Regions from separate parts of the Homo sapiens genome. Here all the other regions are linked to region 5. Evidence: promoter capture Hi-C in 16 types of primary human blood cells and fetal thymus (Javierre and others, 2016). All regions are on one chromosome and are shown on one strand. Each heading gives the region's core, a stretch centred on a gene start or on the middle of the fragment in contact. The rest is flanking DNA. Distances are from core to core; before and after follow the strand shown.

Evidence for each region. Contacts are between HindIII fragments. The CHiCAGO score rates a contact against its expected background, and 5 or more counts as called.
Region 1: a contact is called between a fragment that was not itself captured here and the fragment with the promoter of SLC25A36 in region 5, in 1 of 17 cell types (M2 macrophages). The highest score is 5.5, in M2 macrophages.
Region 2: a fragment that was not itself captured here is called in contact with the fragment with the promoter of SLC25A36 in region 5 in 1 of 17 cell types (non-activated CD4 T cells); the score reaches 5.6 in non-activated CD4 T cells.
Region 3: a contact is called between a fragment that was not itself captured here and the fragment with the promoter of SLC25A36 in region 5, in 1 of 17 cell types (M0 macrophages). The highest score is 5.2, in M0 macrophages.
Region 4: a contact is called between a fragment that was not itself captured here and the fragment with the promoter of SLC25A36 in region 5, in 1 of 17 cell types (naive B cells). The highest score is 5.3, in naive B cells.
Region 6: a contact is called between a fragment that was not itself captured here and the fragment with the promoter of SLC25A36 in region 5, in 3 of 17 cell types (fetal thymus, total CD4 T cells and non-activated CD4 T cells). The highest score is 6.8, in fetal thymus.
Region 7: a contact is called between the fragment with the promoter of TRPC1 here and the fragment with the promoter of SLC25A36 in region 5, in 1 of 17 cell types (fetal thymus). The highest score is 8.7, in fetal thymus.

Annotation. Positions count from the first base shown.
Region 1 is chr3:139,446,916-139,449,615 of GRCh38, forward strand. The region is part of intron 3 of COPB2-DT (COPB2 divergent transcript); the gene reads left to right. Among named protein-coding and RNA genes, the nearest start is that of RBP2, 28 kb to the right of the region's middle. The HindIII fragment of the contact is 1,015 bases long and covers 849-1,863 here.
Region 2 is chr3:142,580,295-142,582,994 of GRCh38, forward strand. It overlaps the pseudogene RPL6P9. Among named protein-coding and RNA genes, the nearest start is that of ATR, 2.9 kb to the left of the region's middle. The HindIII fragment of the contact is 1,721 bases long and covers 449-2,169 here.
Region 3 is chr3:139,521,199-139,523,898 of GRCh38, forward strand. The region is part of intron 2 of RBP1 (retinol binding protein 1); the gene reads right to left. All of the region lies in intron 3 of COPB2-DT (COPB2 divergent transcript), which reads left to right. Among named protein-coding and RNA genes, the nearest start is that of RBP1, 17 kb to the right of the region's middle. The HindIII fragment of the contact is 793 bases long and covers 991-1,783 here.
Region 4 is chr3:139,359,642-139,362,341 of GRCh38, forward strand. It overlaps COPB2 (coat protein complex I subunit beta 2), which reads right to left. Exons shown (of 22, transcript NM_004766.3): 17 at 1,440-1,654. Among named protein-coding and RNA genes, the nearest start is that of MRPS22, 17 kb to the left of the region's middle. The HindIII fragment of the contact is 4,235 bases long and covers 1-2,700 here.
Region 5 is chr3:140,940,547-140,943,246 of GRCh38, forward strand. It overlaps SLC25A36 (solute carrier family 25 member 36), which reads left to right and starts at 1,290. Exons shown (of 7, transcript NM_001104647.3): 1 at 1,290-1,549. The coding sequence starts at 1,509. RefSeq lists enhancers at 1,264-1,633, 1,727-2,574, 2,214-2,443. The HindIII fragment of the contact is 2,098 bases long and covers 214-2,311 here.
Region 6 is chr3:142,445,352-142,448,051 of GRCh38, forward strand. It overlaps XRN1 (5'-3' exoribonuclease 1), which reads right to left and starts at 2,686. Exons shown (of 41, transcript NM_001282857.2): 1 at 2,519-2,686. The coding sequence starts at 2,593. RefSeq lists enhancers at 512-871, 2,404-2,683. The HindIII fragment of the contact is 564 bases long and covers 1,063-1,626 here.
Region 7 is chr3:142,722,715-142,725,414 of GRCh38, forward strand. It overlaps TRPC1 (transient receptor potential cation channel subfamily C member 1), which reads left to right and starts at 1,320. Exons shown (of 13, transcript NM_001251845.2): 1 at 1,320-2,017. The coding sequence starts at 1,846. RefSeq lists a silencer at 1,564-1,613 and an enhancer at 1,872-2,700. The HindIII fragment of the contact is 1,344 bases long and covers 647-1,990 here.

The sequences.
Region 1 (2,700 bases), core at 106-2,605, 1.5 Mb before region 5:
TGCCATCCCCTTGGTGATAATGAGTTCTCACTTGGTTAGTTTTTGTGAGATCTGGTTGTTTAAAAGAGCCCAGAACCTCCACCTGACTGTTTCTTGCTCTCTTTCTTGCCATGTGACATCACTGGCTCCCCCTTTGCCTTGTGCAATGATTATAACCTTCCTGAGGCCCTTATTGGAGGTAGATGCCAGAGCCATACTCGTACAGCCTGCACAACTGTGAGTCAATTAAACCTCTTTTCTTTATAAATTACCCAGTCCCAGGTACTTATAGCAATGCAAAAACTATCTAACACTCCTGGTTTCAAATGATTGGGAAGAAATGGGATTAGAGGTCTCTGAAGATGCCAGGGCTCTGGAGATTGCTGGGGGAAGGATAGCCCTGTCCCTGTCAGGGGCCGCCTCCTGTGTGGAGGGCCTTAGGGCTCTGGAGAGAGAACCCCTGTGTTCAAATTCTGCCTCTGCTACTTACCAAATATGGGACTTTGAGTATTTCACCTGGTCTGAATGGGCACCTACATCCTAGTCCTGGAAACAGCTCAAATAGGGACAGAGGAGGTGCTTAACAAAGGATTAAGCCTACAACCTGGATCTATTCCTTGCCTTGAAGACCAGTTGAGGGCCCAGGATGAGCCTCCTGTGGGTGCACTAGCTCTGCTTTAATTGCCTAGTTCTAAAATGAATCTTCCTTTGCATTGGAGAAAAAAACAACAGAGGCTACAGAAAGCCCCTGGGGTCTGTCTCAGCTGCTATTGCTCTGACTGTGGTCTGTGAACCCTGGGTAGGCAAGACATAGCTCCCACCTGTTCCTCTTTTCATCTCTTGCTGGTGAGGAGCAGGTGTTCTTTCCAAGCTTCTCCTATCTCTCTCCCCTCTTCTTACTTGTTCCAGTCTTTCTCCCTCCTCTTCCCTCTCCTCTTCTTTCTTCTTCCTTTGCCTTATCCTCTTCCCTGCTTTCCTCTCTCCCATTCTTTCCCCCTCCTCTGCTCTTTTCTCCTCTCTCTTTCTCTCCTCTCCCTTCCTCTTCCCTCTGCCTTCCTCTTCACTTCCCTTTCCTCCTACCCTTTCCCCTCCTTTCCCATCTTCTCTCCTCCTCTACCCCCTCATCCCTTCCTCTTCACCTCTCCCCTCTGTTTCCCTTCCTCTCCCTGCAACATTCTCTCCTCTCCTCCTTCCTCCTTTCTCTTCTTCCTCATTCTCCCCTCCTGTCCCTTCTGTAGCTCCCCTTATCCCTTGTGGCATCAGCATCTCCCAGCCTCAAAACTGGCAGTCACTGTTTCATCAGCTCTGGCCCCAGCCAAAACCTCCCTCCCTTCTCAGCCAGCAGCAGCTGCTGGACTCTTGAAGGGGGTAACAATTAGTCATTGGAGGGTGGCAGTGGTTGAGGGAGACAGAGCGTGCCAGCCTTTGCAGTCATTGCTCTGTCACCTCATGTACAACAGGCTTAACTCAACACGTGATCTTCCCTTTGGCACCCCCCTCTCCCTCTGCCACTGCTGAGCTGTGTTGTGTGTATTTGTCCTCCCTCGTCCCCACACCCACAACCATCTTTATGCCCTCACCTCCTCTGTGAGCTTTATGCAGCCCTGCCTAGTGTGGCAGCTCCTTAAAGCACCTCTCTTGTTCTTCCCTTCCTTCCTGTGACCACTCCCTATCCCTAATATGGGTCCCTCACTGCTTCTCCCCTGAAATACTTGATCCTGGGTTCCTCTCCCCACCTTCATCTGTCCTGTCAACAATGACTGGAGTGCATTCCTGGTTCATGTCCTCCTAGGGATGAAAAAGAGTGACATCTTTCCTCCCCACCACACTCCTAGAACAAAAGATAGGTTAACAAGAGAAAAGCATAACACATTTATTTAATCAAGCTTTTATGTGATATGGGAGACTTCAAAAATGAAGACCCCAAGACCCAGGGGAAACTGTTTTTATGCTTAGGTTTGATGAAGAGTGGACAGCCATGTACTCTTTTTGTATTGGACAAAAGGGGTATAATCCAGTAGTAATAGACTGAATGGGAAAACCCAGCAAGGCCTGTCTGTTCAGATTCTTCTTGGCCTCTCTGTTGTAGCATTTCTTCCTTCTGGGTATGATGCAGGACCCCTCTGCAATGAGGGCCTTAGGATCTAATATCAGATAAGGGTAGGTCAGAGAATTTCTTTTTGGCCACCTCCTAGACAGAAGGGGATGGGGAGGTCAGAGTAGTATTTCCAGGGTTCATGGCTTACTTTGGGGGAGAGGGGTTCCAGTTTTTATGACCCACCTAGGGTACAAGGAATTATGTTTCTATGACTTGCTTTGAGGGAGAAATGAGGGGTGAGAGATAGGAAGCAGGAAGTCAAAGAGACCATGGTTCTGAGGTTGCTTCTGAGGTCTTCCAATGTCCTTTAGTTCAAAGTACTCAGCACACCAAAGTGCTATACTTTGGGGTATCATTTTCTGAGCTGCAGAATCCCAGATACATCACTCTCCTCAGAAGCTCTGGCTCTCCTGGTGCACTGACTGAGACCAAACAAGTGTTCATGACCTACCCAAGCCTGAGAGAACAGCCCTCCAGATCCTGGTCCTCCTGCCTTCCACCATGGGCAAGAACCCCCACCCCACCTCTCCCCAACCCTCCTTGCCTTTTTCTGCTTCCCGCCTTTGCTTGTGCTGGTTCCTTCTCCACCTGTTCCCATCACCCATACCCTGTTCCCATCACCC
Region 2 (2,700 bases), core at 59-2,558, 1.6 Mb after region 5:
ATTGGGAGTTACAGGCCCTACACAAGTTCTCATTCCATCTGCTAGAAACTATATGACCTCAGTAAAGTTACTTAATCTCTTAATACTTCCATTTTTTCATTTATAAAATGGGATTAATAATGTCTACCTCACAAGATTACAGCAAAGATTAAATAAGAGGGGGTAAAGTCATAAAGTGGAATATAATTTCATAGTTAAAATGAATGAATTATACTACCTATACCAACGATGAATCCTGAAAACTACATTGATTGAAAAAGCAAATTCAAAGGTATACATAATAGTGTCATATCATTTATATACAATCTTAAAACCACAAAACAATGCGTTGTGTGAGTTATGTATACAAATATGTTTGATAAAAGTATGAAAACATGTTTGGCAAAGATAGATATCAACTCCAGGATAGTTGCACCTGTGGAAGGGAGAGAAGGGAATGAAATGATGAAGCTTCAATGTATCCCTAAGGGTTTTCTTTTAGTAGGATTTGAATTAATTATTATTTAATCAAAATTTAATGTTATATTTGGGTGGATGTTATATTACTATTTGTATCTGCATAGCCAGGATATTCCAACATGTATTAAAAAAAATAGCTCCTTCCCGTCTTGTAAGATGGTGGGGGAAAAAGTTGAGAAGCCAGACACCAAGGAGAAGAAACGTGAAGCCAAGAAGGCTGATGCTAGTGGCAAGGTTAAAACATAACTTCGGTTGGGCACGGTGGCTCACGCCTGTAATCCCAGCACTTTGGGAGGCTGAGGCAGGCGGATCACCTGAGGTCAGGAATTCAAGACCAGCCTGGCTAACATGGTGAAACTCCATTTCTACTAAAAATACAAAAAATTAGCTGGGTGTGCTGGTGGGCGCCCGTAATCTCAGCTATTCGGAAGGCTGAGGCAGGAGAATCGCTTGACCCCGAGAGGCGGAGGTTGCAGTGAGCCGAGATTGCATCATTGCATTCCAGCTTGGGCAACAAGAGCGAAACTCCGTCAAAAAACACAAACAAAAACACCTCAAGGCTAAAAAGCCAAAGAAAGGGAAGCCCCCCTGCAGCGGAAATCCTGTCCTTATCAGAGGAATTGGCAGATATTCTCAATCTGCTATGTCAAAAAGGCCAGGTACAAGAGGAAGTACTCGGGTACTAAATCCAGAATTAAAAAGAAGAAAGTCCAGACTTGAAAAAGGAAAAGGTTCTTGCCATTGCTACAAAACCAGTTGGTGGCAACAAGAATGGTGATACTTTTTGCAAAGTAAACCCTACAAAATGCCTAGATCCTTCCAAAGATGTGCCTGGAAAGCTGCTGTTGAGCCACAGAAAAAACAAACAGAAACACTTCAGTCAGCACAGAGAAAACTGCAAACTAGCTTCTCTCCTGGGATCATTCTGCTTATCCTCACTGGGCACCACAAAGGCAAGAGGGTGGTTTTACTGGAGCAGCTGAGGAGTGGCTTGTTAATTGTGACTGGACCTCTGGTCCTCATTCACATTCTGTGGGAAACACACCAGAGGTCATCACAAAATTGAAATCAGCAATGTGAAAATTCCAAAACATCTTACCAATGCTTGCTTAAGAAGATGATGCTATGGAAGCCCAAATACTGGGAAAGTGACATCGTCAACACAGAAAGAGAGTAATAGAAGATTATGGAGCAATGCAAGGTTGATCAGAAAGCTGTGGACTCGTGGCCAAGCACGCTAGCTCACTCCTGTTACCCCAGCACTTTGGGAGCCTGAGGCGGGTGGATCACTTGAGGTCAGGAGTTCGACACCAGCCTGCCAACATGGTGAAACCCCATCTCTACTAAAAATACAAAAATTAGCCTGGCGTGGTGGCGGGCATCTGTAATCCCAGCTGCTGGGGAGGCTGAGGCAGGAGAACCACTTGATCCCGGGAAGCAGAGTTTGCAGTGAGCAGAGATCGCACCACTGCACTCTAGCCTGGGTGACAGAGCAAGACTCCATCTCAAAAAAAAAAAAAAAAAATTAGAAAGTTGTGGACTCGTAAATGTTACCAAAAATCAAAGCTATTCCTTAGCTCCAGGGCTACCTGTAATCTGTGTTTGCTCTGATGAATGGAGTTTATCCTAGCAAATAGGTGTTCTAAATGTCTTACCAAGAACCTAATTAAATAACTGATGCATTTAAAAACTAAAATAAGTATACTTTTAAGCTTAAATAACACATCTGAAAAATAGTTTAAAAATACCAAATTTTAGCTATTTTTAGAACATATGAAGAAAGATTATAAAAATTAGAATGCTATCTGGAAGGCAATAGCTAAATAGCATGGTAATTCTAAAAAGCAGTATAAATTTGCAAGCCTTATAAATAATAGAGCCTCAGAAATCCCATTTAATTCAAAAAGTCATTTTGGGCAAGATATTGGGTTAGGTACTTCTGTGACAGACACAAAAATGAGGAAGATGAAGTTAGTTTCAGCGGGGCATAGTGGCTAACACTTGTAGTCCCAGCTACTTGAGAGGCTGAGGTAGGAGGATGGCTTGAGCCAAGGAAGCCAGGGTTACAGTAAGCCACAATCTCGCCACTACATTCCAGCCTGAGCAACAGAGCCAAATCCTGTCTCAGAGGAAAAAAAAAAAGTTAATTTCAGGTAATGTACAATTTGTGGATACAGAAAGGATATAATGAGAACATAGACAATTAAGAGCAAAGTGAAATCCAGTGAATGCCAGGACAGG
Region 3 (2,700 bases), core at 137-2,636, 1.4 Mb before region 5:
AAAAAAAAAAAAAGAGATAATTGCTCTAACATTGTATATGTTACAATGTATGGTAAATTTCCATCCACTCTTTTTTTTTTATATCTATCTATCTATCTACATGTTTCTGTTTTATACAAAATTAGGATTGCATCATTTATGGTTTCATATCCTCATTTCTTCATTTAATTGAAGCAACTTCCCATTTCAACAAATATTCTCCATAAGCATTATTTTAATTGCTACGTAATATTCTAGGAAGTAGCTACATAGTGTGTGTGTGGTCCACCACAAAATGAAAATGAGGGATTCTTTGCTCAAAATCATTAAGATTTTTAAGCTGGTGACAGCAGAGCATTAAACCAAGTGAGGGGCTTTCTGAGCCTGGGGCCCTGATGGACTGCCTTTGTCACAGGCCCACAAAACAGTCCCTGATAGTATTTGATTGTACATACATACTGTTATTTAGCCAATTACCTATTTTGGACATTTAAGTTATTTATTTATAATTCTGTGCTACTATAAATAAGACTTCTTTGTATACATAGTTTTGAACACATTGTTCCCTTAGAAGAAATTTCCAGAGGAGGAATTGTTGCATCAAAGAGTGTGCATATTTGTAAAGCTTTTGATGAGTATTGCCAACTTTATCTCCAGAAAGCTCACACCTATTTACCTTCCAACACCAGGGTCAGAGAATGACCATGAGAGAGATGTTTATTAATGGTAAAGCATGCTTTTGCTCCTGGGGCTACTGTGTTACCATTTCCAGATCGCTGGCATCTTTTAACAGGGGCCATCTGGATATAAACAATAATAATACCTTAGCCCAAAAGAATGACAGATGGCAGAATTTCAGGCAGCTTGACAGATTGAGGGATAGAGAGAGCAGAAGTCTGTTGGGGTGTAGAGGAGCCTTTCTGAGAGCCCTACAAACCAGGCTTCTTAAAGGGAAGGATCCCTATCACATGCATACTGCATCAGTCTCCCAGAAAGCCTTTCTTAACCCCAAGCTTCTGTTGACTCTGATACTGGACAAAGCAGAGATTATTTTCTTTGACCTCAGGTGATCCACCTGCCTTGGCCTCCTAAAGTGCTAGGAGTTGGACAAAGCAGAGATTATTCTTGTCTGTATTGGATGTAGAGGGGTGGCTGAGCTCAGAGAGGTTCCATGACTTTCTCTGGTCACCTAGTAAATGAGAGAAAGAATCTGGGCTGGAGCACGGGCTTTGCATGACTTGGTGCCCACTTGTTTCCCAGTCTAGGGCAGGGCACCTGCCAGGTGCCCACGAGATGGTGGCTAAAATCATTGGGGGCTGCAGAAAAACACATGGACATTGTGCTAAGACTCCGAGCAGACTCCTGGAGGAACACCCTTAAGTTCATTCCAACCATTGTGGGGGTATGGGTGCTGGGAGTCAGAAAGAGGTCTTAAAGATTTCTGCCTGTAGAGGTCCCCACAGAGAAGTGCCCAGGCTGTCATGGCCTCAAAGGAGTTTCTAAAAATGGGAGGGGCATTCTAGGCAGAGTGAAAAAGGATGAAAGGGGTAGGAGGTGATGAGGGAGAAATGACAACAAGCCAGTGTTGTAGAAGACTATCCTGGAGTTAAGGAGAGGAGGAACAAGGTTGTTGGGGGGTGGTGGGGAGATGGGGCCAGAATATCAGACTGAAAAACCCAGACTGTGGCCTGGAGCATGTTTTCAGTGCCTGTCTTTGCTGCCTGTGCTGTTGGGTAGAACCATCCAGGCGGGCAGGTGGGCCAGGGAATTGGTCAGGTTGTACTCTGGGTTAAAGAATCCTGGAAGCTTACTGGCCATTTATACTTGGCTCCTGGTCCCTGCCCGCCTCCTACTATACCACCTCAACCTATATCAGGTTGACTTAGTATGGGCAGCAAAGAACATGGTATCAGAGAGAGCTGGGTCCTCTGTTCCTGACTATGTTGGATGACATTGGGCAACTGGATTAACCTCTCTGAGTCTCTGTGCCCTCAACTGCAAAAGAAGGCTAAACGATACCTACTGTGGTAGACTCTTCCACTGGTGACTCCCGAGTCTCATGATATTCAAACCCCTGTGAAGTCTCTTCCTACATCGGCTTGGTTTGGCCACGTGACTAGCTCTGGCTAGTGAGACATGAACAAGCATGATGGAAGTAGTGCCTTTATAAACACTTGTATGCTGGGGGCTTGTCCTCTTGGAATCTTCCCCTCTTGAAACCCAGCTGCTATATGTTAAGGCAGTCCAGGATATTCTGCCAAAGAGAAAGGGCACAAGGAGAAGCCCTGGAGGATGGGAAAGAAGCCACTTGGAGAAGAGCTGAGGCGCCCCAACTGAGCTTTCAGCTGAACACAGCCACAGGCAGCTGAACTGCACAATTAACCAACAGAATCATGAGAATATAAGGTTGTTGTTTTAACCTATTAAGTTTTGGGCTGGTTACATGGCATTAGATAAACAAAGCACCTACTTCACCAGGTTGTTCTGAGGATTTGAGAAAATATACAGAAAATGCATAGGGCTGGCATATAGGAGGCACTAGGTAATGGTAATCATGATGCCCAGAGCTTAGATAAAGATGGGTTTCCTTGTCAATGTTGAACAATAATGAAAGCCTTTTTTTTAAGAGTTGGAGATTTGTGAAGCAGTGACTGACATGCTATTCATCATGGCCAAGGTTTTGGAAGCTCCTTCTCTTTCTAGGATACTGGGATCCATGAG
Region 4 (2,700 bases), core at 201-2,700, 1.6 Mb before region 5:
TTAGCAAATTTTAAAGGCATAAGGATATATGCCAGCAGAAATTCAGTTCCACAAGACAAATATCTAGGGCAGTGTCTCCAACATGGGAAGGGCCAGACAAGCCAGTGGTGCCCAGCAGAATACCATGGTGTCTTATTTTTTCTTCTATTTTAATTTCATTTTTTTTCTGTGCAAGTTTTATGATGTGGACAATATGTTTCAGAATTCAGGATTTTTTGGATTTTCGAAAGGTGATACAGTATGTATACTATGTATTACCTTACATCCTCAGCATGAAAAAGCCACAAACATTAATACTGCAATAACTTACATAGGAATGTTAAATGCAATAAAAATGTACCAAGTTGGTATAAAAGCAACTAAAAATACTAAAGCAGTTCAGCTCAGGTCTTGCCATCAAAACAGTTATAACTGTTTTCAGAATATTTTTGGATTTTTGAATTATGGATAAGGAATAGGGTCTATTCTTACAGGTATATAAATTCATAAATACATTCACATACATACAATGGGGTGCACGTTCAAAGTTATATGGCGAAGTATGGGATTGTAAAAAAAAAAAAAAATCAGTATGTAGGAGAAGGTTAAAGAATACTTTCGGGCTGGGCGTGGTGGCTCACACCTATAATCCCAGCACTTTGGGAGGACGAGGCAGGCGGATCATTTGAGGTCAGGAGTTTGAGACCAGCCTGGCCAACATGGTGAGACCCCATCTCTATTAAAAACACAAGCCGGGTGTGGTGGCGCATGCCTGTAATCCCAGCTACTTGGGAGGCTAAGGCAGGAGAAGGGCTTGAACGAGGGAGACAGAGGCTGCAATTAGCCGAGATCATGCCACTGCACTCCAGCCTGGGCAACAGAGTGAGATTCCATCTCAAAAAAAAAAAAAAAAAAAGGAAAGAATACTTTTGTGTTTTATTTCATAATACTGCCAACTAATGTCCAAATGATTTGGTTTATGCTAACTCGGTTAGACTTAAAAATATGAGACATCTTTATGCTTTATAGTGGGCTCAAATCTACAAGTAAGTGGCATACTTATCCCCTTTTGTTCTTGCCATAAATGGATCAAAGTTATCCAATTTGGGTAAAATCACCTGCCCTTCAGGTACCTACTAGAGCAGCTCAATAGCCTCCTGCAATCATAAAATAAAATGCTTCCACCATTAACTGGCAGGGCTGTTGAAGAAGGTGTTTAACATTTCTCCCACTTGAGCCTCCCTGAACAGCTCATTTAGCTCAAACATTTAGATAGATGTGCTAAGGGCATCCCTTGCTGAAGGTGAGTGCCACCAAGGCAGCACTGTCCTGTTCTGACTGCCCCGTCTATTCAACACCATTTGGCCATTCATCAGTTCTCTCCAGGGTTCATTCTTCACTTCCCTCTCCAAAAACCATCCTCAGTGTAGAATTAATTAATCTTTTAAATTAATACTCACTTGCCCTGTAAAAAGTAGCTCATGAATGCCACATTATTTTTGCCATCTCTCTCCGCACCCTCTGCTAGCTTGTTCACCATATTAGCATTTCCAGAGGCAGTGGCCAAAAGCAGCAGGCCCCCATAATCCTGTGCATGATGCAGGCACTCCTGGGCTAGGCCAAACTGACATTTACTAATGGCAAGTTCAGCAAGTTGTTTCCACTTCTGTTCTGACTGTAAGAAAAGAGTTTCCAAGTTAAAATATCTTTAGAAATAAGCATTTACATTTCCAACATTATTCTGTTAACTGTGCAGACAATGTTTATAAAAAGAGCTGTGTTTGTTAAGTTGGCTCTATCAAAATAAGAATGGCATTGCAAAATGTACAGTGAGGAAATGGAAATTATTAATGTATACAAAATGAATTTAAACACAAATCAATTTTAATGATGTGCAAATAATTATCGTCAACCCATTATACTTTTATCTTATAATTACACAGGGAAAGTAAAACCATCTCACTGGAGTTTTAAGGCAATTAGACTGCAATTATTTTAACAAGTGATTTAATATCACTTTTTTGAAAGCATACAAAACTACGTCTTTAAATATTTCACAATAATATTATGTCTCACTTGTAGCTTTTCAGAACTCAAAATGCTGCATGTTTAGATGATCTTAACGTAGCTAAAATTTATTTTGCACATCTGAAATTAATTTACCAGTAAATGCCAGTCTGAAACAATTGGGAGCCTCAATATACAAAGATCTATAAAAATATCATTACAAAAATGGTATTAACATTTCTCCCACTTGAGCCTCCCTGAACAGCTCATTTAGCTCAAACATTTAGACCAGATGTGCTAAGAGCATCTGCTGCTGAAGGTGAGTGCCACCAAGGCAGCACTGTCCTTCTCTGACTGCCTGCTCTATTCAACACCAAAAGATGAGGGGGTTGGGCTGTCTTTCAAAACCAACATATTTTTAGTTAGTTTCAGACATTGGCAAATAACTGCTATGTCTGTACTCTTAGGCTTTCCAGACTAGTTTACATACTATTTTACATCTTTTCTTATCTTGCAAAATAGAGCTCACATAAGATATGAAAACAATTTTTCTTAAAACAAATTAGAGTGCTAAGAATATCTCCAATGTAATCAATTTAACTTATGCAAAGTTTAACATAATACATCTTTTAAAAAGATAAGAGAGAGACAATAACTTCAACAAAATGAGCCACTAATTTGCATTTGGGAAAACTTTAATAACAAAACATTACA
Region 5 (2,700 bases), core at 40-2,539:
AACAGGAGATCAAACATAGCTTTCTCAGTATGATTCTGGATCAAAGCAATAGTTACCAAGAGGTGCAAGTGGTCCAGTCAAATCAAAAGTAGACTGGTCAAGAGCCGAAGTCATAGCAGCAGCTTTTTGGGATGCTCAAGGTATTTTGCCTGTTGACTTTCTGGAGGGTGGAAGAGCAATAACATCCGCTTACTATAGGAGAAAGTGAAGCAAAGCTTTAGCATAAAAACACCTACGAAATCTTCACCAGAGAGTCCTTCTCCATCAGGACAATGTTCCTGCTCATTCCTCTCTTTAAATAAGGGCATTTTTCCAGGGATTTCGATGGGAAACTATCAGGTATCCATCTTACATTCCTGACCTGGCTCCTTCTGACATATTTTTGTTTTCTAATCGTGAAAAATCTGTAAATGGCACCCATTTTTCTTCAGTTAATAACGTAAAAAAGCCTGCATTTTCATGATTAAATTCCCAGAACCCTCAATTCTTTACAGATGGACTAAAGAGCCGGTATCATCACTTACCAAACTGTCTTTAACTTGATGGAGCTTACGTTGAAAAACAAAGTTTATATTTTTAAATTTTATCTTTTAATTCCATTTCCCATGAACTTTTATTCTTTTAAAAACAAACCCAAGTATTTTAATTCTACTTGCCTTTTTTACTTATTACACACTTCGGGAGATTTTTTGCCATATGGAATCACCTCATCCCTTGTCACGATTGCATAATATTCCATAGTAGGAATGTTTCATGATTTATTTCTTCATTCCCCCACTGATTTCAATTTTCTGCAACTGCAAGCATTGTTCATAATTCTGTACTGTTTGTGAGCCTATATAGGAGTATCCGTGCACAAACCTTTTTATGCATTGTGCGAGGGTTACTCTGAGATAGACACCAAGGGAACTGCTGGGTCATAAATCCAATTTTTTCAAAGTAAATCCGCTTGCGAACCCGGAACCAAGTCGATTTTTCCCGCCCCGCCAGTTCCCTGTTCAGGAGAGTGCAGCCGTGATTGGCGCGTTCACTCAGGCCAGGGGCGCCCCAGGTCTCAGGTGCTAGGAGCGCGGTGACCTACCACCCTCCGGGCACGCGTTCTGGCCACGCCTCGCGGCCCCTTTCATTGAAAGAGCCCGTAGGGATCACGTGAAAGAACACTGCAGAGTGCGTGACGTCACGACGCTCACACCAATGGGAGCCTCTGTTTATGTCGGGAGCCATCAAATAGTCATCTTCCCCCTACCATCCCCCGCCCACTCTCCGTCGCGCTGCGCTGCGTCGCTTTCAGCCTCTGGTGAAGGGCGGCGCGCTTAGGCAGGCGGTGGCGCGGCTGGAGTGCCGCGGGGAGGGCTGTGCCGGTTGCTTTCTGCAGCCGCATCTCGGCCAGCTCTCCTCGCCGTCCCCGGGGCGCTGTGCGTCTCCAGTCCGGGACCGAAGCCGCCTGCCGTAGCGGGCGGCCAGATCCGCGTCCCGCCTCAGCGGCCGGAGGACATGCGGGAGAGAGAATGAGCCAGAGGGACACGCTGGTGCATCTGTTTGCCGGAGGGTAAGGTCCTGGCGGGGCGTGCGCACTGGGGCTGAGGGTGCTGGGGCCGAAGACGCAGGCGAGGGGGGCGAGGGGGGCCGAGGGGGGTGGGGGGGTGGGGGGGCGGGAGTGAGGCCTGGGCGGGGAGCTGCCACGGGCCTGCGGGTGAGGGGAGCGACCCAGCCCGTGGGTGGTGAGGGGGGCTCCGGTTCGGGGAAGCAAGGGGGTGAGGCCCGGGCCCGAGGGCGAGAGAGTGAGGCCCGGGCAAAGAGGGTTGAGGCATGAAACCCGGGCCGGGAGTGAGGTTTTGGGCCCGCGGGGCCGGGGTGAGGCGGAGGCCGAATCCATGCGTCTGAGGAGACGCGGGCAAGAGCTGGGGTCGGCGCTTGATTACCCGGACGCCGCTGGACCTGGCCGCACGCCGCAATCTAGCAGGCGTCGGGGATCCAGGGCCGCTTTGAGGAGCCTGGCTTCGGATTTCGCGTAGGTTGCATGGCCCAAGGGGACGGGGCGGAAAGTGCGGAGGCTGAGGACAAAATGGGCGCCGGAGACTCCTTTAGCCCTCGCTCCTTGCAGCGCTCGCTTGGGCCTCTGCACGTCACTCACGCCCCACCTCGGACCTCGGGCCGCTCATTTCCGGGCTCGGCTTTGCAAGGTGGGTGGTAAGGGGGCTACGGGATCGAGCGGGGAAGGCTTTGGTATTCTCCCGTGGTTGCTGTAGGGTGTTTCTAGCCCTTGGAAAATTTCTTGCCCGAGGTTTTCCAGGTGGTGAATGGGGTGCAAAGCTTTCCAGTACCTTTGGGGTCAGATTCCTTTCGAGAAAACCACCCCTCTTGAACACCGCTTGCTTTTCTGCTGCTTAGGAGAAAGTAGGAGTGGAGAGAGGTCAGATTTTTTGAAGATAGTGTTAATAGTTACTATGTGTGTGCAAGATTAGGACTAAGCCTAAAGTCTTAGTTCCCTGATTGCCAAAATGAGTGTTAGAGCTTCCAGTTTAGCCTCCTGTTTAGATTTGCTCCTTCTAAATCATTTGGAGAATCATAGCAATTTTAAGAGTTACTTATTTGGAGGATTATAAAGAGTTTTCTTATCAAAAATGCCTTCGGTGAATTATGCTGAGACTCTTACCGGCATCTTCTTAAATCCTGCAGTTTTTAGATCGACTTTTAAGA
Region 6 (2,700 bases), core at 95-2,594, 1.5 Mb after region 5:
TTGTGTGCATTTTTTTCATTGCAAGTTTTTATGTCTGGAGAGATACTCTGTCCCTTTTTCTCGTATAATAACTTTGTATGTAATTTGATCTCAATACCTTTCTGTAGCTCATTTTTATGTGAATTTAATTTTCTTGAACTTTTAGAATGAGTAGAGGTTCAGGGAATATAAGTTCACAAAGCTGTTTCTGGGTAGTGTTAAAAAATACAGTGGTTTGCTTTGTGGTTTGTTTTCTAAGATTTCTTGATTCTATGACTTTGCCTCACTTTTATATGGTCTATCTCCTTCTCTTCTTGTCTCTATTGTCCCTTTCATAAAATTTTATTCCACTTCCAGCATAACATTTCCGTAAGACTTTATTCCACTCCCTTTTCCTTAGGGCTCTGGTCTAGAATGGCACCTTGGCAAGTCAGTTTTGAGTGTTCACAGGAGGTAGACTACTCCTGCCTGTTTGGTCTTTCTTATGGTAGACCTTCACCCAGTCAATAATGGAGTGAATAAAACTCCTCTGTTTCAGCTACCGCTATCTAATTGGCCAGCACAGTCTTTTAGTGGATACCGCTGGCTATTCTGGAATTCTGTTCTAAGGTTCATCAGATGTTGCCCCATTGCTTCCTTCTCGCTTTTGCACAGATGGCAATATCAACGGTGTCTAGAGACTATTGATAGTTTGCCTCACCTAGTTATGTTTTGAGTTTCATGGGGATAGCATGTCACATGGTTTGTTGTAATTGTTTTATGGATTTTAAACTTTGGTTTCTAGTTTCTCTTTCTGTTTTTACAAGATGATTCAGAGAAACTGAAAACCTATGCTACTGAGGCCACACCACTGACTTCCCGTAACTTACTTCTTCTCCCTATCCTTCCCGCCCAGGACTAGCTTTTGAATGCCTGTGACTTATTTAGGCATTACCATCTTTAAGTTCTACTTAACAGAGAAGCTGATAACCTTTGGTCTCTTTTTAATCAAACATTTTTGAAAGGTATCACAACAATGAACCAAATTTTAAAATTTATTTACAGTGAAATTTAAAAATAATTCTCCTCCCAGTTTCTATATAAAGCTTTCACAAAACCTATCCTTAGTGTCCATGTCATAAAACTGCATTAAAGAGATTTTCATTCTTCAGTAACAAAATTCCTCAGGATGGAGAGAATCTAAGATATTTTCACCAAACCAAATTCTGTGCCACAGACTACAGAATAAAAATATTACTGAACAAATTATGTATTAAATCATCACGAATAACAATCGCATTATTTTTGCACTTTAGAGATAAAGTGACTGATATATAGCAGGTACTGACTGAAGGATGCAAGAAAAGCCAAAGTTGGTTGTCTCCATTTCTGCAATGTACTGGTTTCCTTTTTAGCCCTCCCCGGGGGAAAAAAATACCTCTCTAAACCTAACTCAATCTATGTTTCAAATAAATTCAAGATAAGCTAACCTTGGAAACTTTTTGTAGTCTATTTCTCATCTACCAAATCTGATTGGAATCCAGCAACAAAAACTCCTTTCCAGAAGTAAACTACCTTCATGTTCGTAAATGCCGATTAAACCATAATTTAATAGGCTATTTACAATACTACCCATCACAACTGATTCAATCAGCTACACAAATTTCAAGCTTTTTTTCTGTAAAGCATCAGAAAAGAGATCAAATTCATTAAATGTGACAAACACCAAAGTATCACCCAAAGTCTAGTTTACCTAATAGACGACTGCTTTCTCCTCTCTTTCCACAGTTCCAATATATAAACTACGTTTTCGGAATCTACACATTAACGTTGTCCTGGGGTCAGTACATGCCAAATATTATTAGTAGTATTAATGTTCTATCAATTCGTTTCCCAACCCCCTCTGTCACACAGTGAGGCCTCCAAATAAAAGGTCCTACGCCCCACTCCCCAGCTGGCCCAAGAGTTTTTTGTTTTGGCAACAGGGGATTGGTGCTGCTTTTGAAATAACAGAAAGTAACAAAAGGCATCACCAATATGACCATCAGCCACGTCGGAAAGTCTAGGCTCCGGGGGCCGGGTGGGCCGCGCTCTAGATCAGGGAAAGTAAACAAGGTGACTGCGTGCGGAAGCGGCTGTTATCGTCTGTAAGTGGGTCTGCCGCTCTGGGTGGGATGGGGGAACCTACGAGGACACCCACTCCAGCTTCGCAGCCTCTGTAAGGAAAAAGGCAACTTGCAGCTCCCCGGGAGGAAACCGGAGAACAGTAAAAGCGTTCTTTCCCAGGACTTCATTTCGGAGTCGCGGAAGGACCAGCAGAAGCAAGAGCTGTCAGAGAAGCCGTGAACCCAGCGGCTCTGTCCACACACAGGCAACCTGCGTCCTTAGCCCCTTTCGGCTCATCCGGGCGTCCTCAAACCTTCCGTCCCCCTCCCTAATGCCACTAATCGTCCAGACGACGAGGGGAAAGAGGTGGCTCGAAAGCCCCAGCTCTAAGGTGGAGAGGGCCGCGGAGCCCCGGGTCCTCGGCTTTCTGAGCCGTTGCCCCTCGCTCACCCACCTGATGCTCTTTCACCACTTCGCTGAGACAGGGATACCGCTCTGAGATCCATCTGTAAAACTTGGGGACTCCCATTTCGATCGTCAACACTAATCCCAGTCAGGGCCAAACCGAAACCAAACGCCCCGCCGGGGCTCCGCCGCAGCCTCCGGTCGTCGCTCCGCGGATGACAACACACCGCC
Region 7 (2,700 bases), core at 70-2,569, 1.8 Mb after region 5:
CAATTCTCAAAAGAAGATACACAAATGGCCAACAAACATATGAAAAAATGCTCAAGATCACTAATGATCAGGGAATTCCAAGTCAAAACTGCTATGCCGTATGTACCACCCTACTTCCGCAAGAATGGCCATAATCAAAAAAATCAAAAAATAATAGCTGTTGGTGTGGATGCGGTGAAAAGGGAACACTTCTACATTACTGGTGGGACTGTAAACTAGTACACCACTATGGAAAACAGTGTGGAGATTCCTTAGAGAACTAAAAGTAGAACTACCATTTGATCCAGTAATCCCACTACTGGGTATCTACCCAGAGGAAAAGAAGTCATTACACGAAAAAGATACTTGCCCATGCATATTTATAGCAGCACAATTCGCAATTGCAAAAATGTGGAGCCAACCCAAATGCCCATGAATCAATGAGTGGATAAAGAAACTGTGATATATATATATATATATATATATGTGGTATATATATATGTGATATATATATAATGATGGAATACTACTCAGCCATAAAAAGGAATGAATAAATGGCATTCGCAGAAACCTGGATGGGACTGGAGACTATTATTCTTATTCTAAATGAAGTAACTCAGGAATGGAAAACCAAACATCGTATGTTCTCACTCACAAGTGAGAGCTAAGCTTTGAGGATGCAAAGGCATAGGAATGACACAATGGACTTTCGGGACTCGGGGAAAGGTTGGGAAGGGGGAGAGGGATAAAAGACTACAAAATTAGGTTCAGTGTATACTGCTCGATGATGGGTACATCAAAATCTCACAAATCATCACTAAAGAACTTACTCATGTAACCAAACACCACCTGTTCCTCAAAAACCTATGGAAATAATATGGAAATAAAAATTTATATATTTGTATAAATTATTTAAACATAATATAATTATATATCTATATATCCTTTATAAATGAGAGTTCATTTCCAGCCTAAAATGAGTACAACATACAAACCCACGAGTCTGGCTCTCCATTGTGCTTTAAAGCATAGTGCACCAGAATATGAAATAGCTGGACAATTCCACAAAGGATTTCGACTAAACATTAAGTCGTCAGAGACTCAATTAACATACTGCTCCATATTTGCTTAATTACCTTAAACCAGTACCCTGGGTGTGGAAAGGGACGATTGAGCGAAGTCTTCCTCAGACTGCGGTTCACCTCACCAGAGCGAAGGAAGCTGCAGCGGGCTCCAGGAGCCCAGTGCGTCCCCACCGCAGGCCCCACCCACCCACGCCCCGCTTGCCGCAGGCCCCGCCCACCCAAGCCCGCCCTTGCCGCAGGCTCCTCCCTAGTGTCGTCGCTACAGAGGAGCAGAGGATGACGTGAGGACAGAGTCGCGAACATCTCCTCGGAGCGCAGCTGGGCCAGCGGTTCCCACAGCCCTGGAGCCCAACGTGCGCAGAAGCGCCTCTTGGAGCTCCTCTCCCACAGATCTCTCGTCCTCTTCCTGGGCTAGGCCGCCCCAGGCGCGGCCCCTGCGACTCCTGGCACGGCCCCGTGCTCGGCTGCCGCCCTGGCGCGCGCCACACTGTCGTCCCCGGACGGGCGCGGACCGGCTCGGCCGGGGCGCCGGCGGCTGGGGAGGGGTCGCTGGCCCCGGGGCCGCGCATGCGCCGCCACCAACTTGGGGCTGTCAGTGGAGGGCGAGTGCTGGTTCTCAGGGGAGGCGACGCCCTTCGGGGCCAACGGGCCTCGAGCCGAGGCAGCAGTGGGAACGACTCATCCTTTTTCCAGCCCTGGGGCGTGGCTGGGGTCGGGGTCGGGGTCGGGGCCGGTGGGGGCCCCGCCCCCGTCTCCTGGCCTGCCCCCTTCATGGGCCGCGATGATGGCGGCCCTGTACCCGAGCACGGACCTCTCGGGCGCCTCCTCCTCCTCCCTGCCTTCCTCTCCATCCTCTTCCTCGCCGAACGAGGTGATGGCGCTGAAGGATGTGCGGGAGGTGAAGGAGGAGAATACGCTGAATGAGAAGCTTTTCTTGCTGGCGTGCGACAAGGGTGAGAGTTAGGCCCCTTTCTCCTCTGGACGCCCCTGTCCTCCAGACCTTTAGTCCTCTCCCCCGCCTCAACTTATATCGGGGCATTCCCTCTGTCTCAGGCGCCGAGTGTCTTCCCGCCTCGCCTGCTGCCTCAGGCGGTCTTCTCCTCACCGCCTCTGCCCTGTGAGTGTGGAGCTGGCGGGAGAGTGGAGCTGGGGCTGCGCCCTCGGAGCGCTGCACCGTCGGGGGTGGCTCTGGCCTTGGGGTCCGGGGTTTAGGTAGCGCCTTGGGAGCCCCGACCCCAGCGTTTTAGCGCCGCCCTTGCTACTGACCGCATGAATGACCTGGTCTTCTCTCTGGCTCGCAGTTCATTCCTTCCGGGAGTCGAGAGGCTAGTTTCCGACACTCCAGTCGGAAAATTCCGTCACCTTACCTTAGGATGCCTCGTATGGAGGGTTCTCATCACCTGGTTTTTGTTTTTCTTAAAAACAAAACCAGACCCTCTATTATTTAGCTTCACCTGACCAGTGCTTTAGCCAGTGACTGTTGACTGGCATTAATAACGGAATATCCTAGGTGGAGATACATGAAGTAAGGACGGGACGGAAGAAATTCTGCCTTAGTTGCCAAAACTTTCTCTGGATTTACGGAACGCCTTTGATTGTTAGTGCTTTTTATTGGAGAGAAAGATTTATTGCTCCC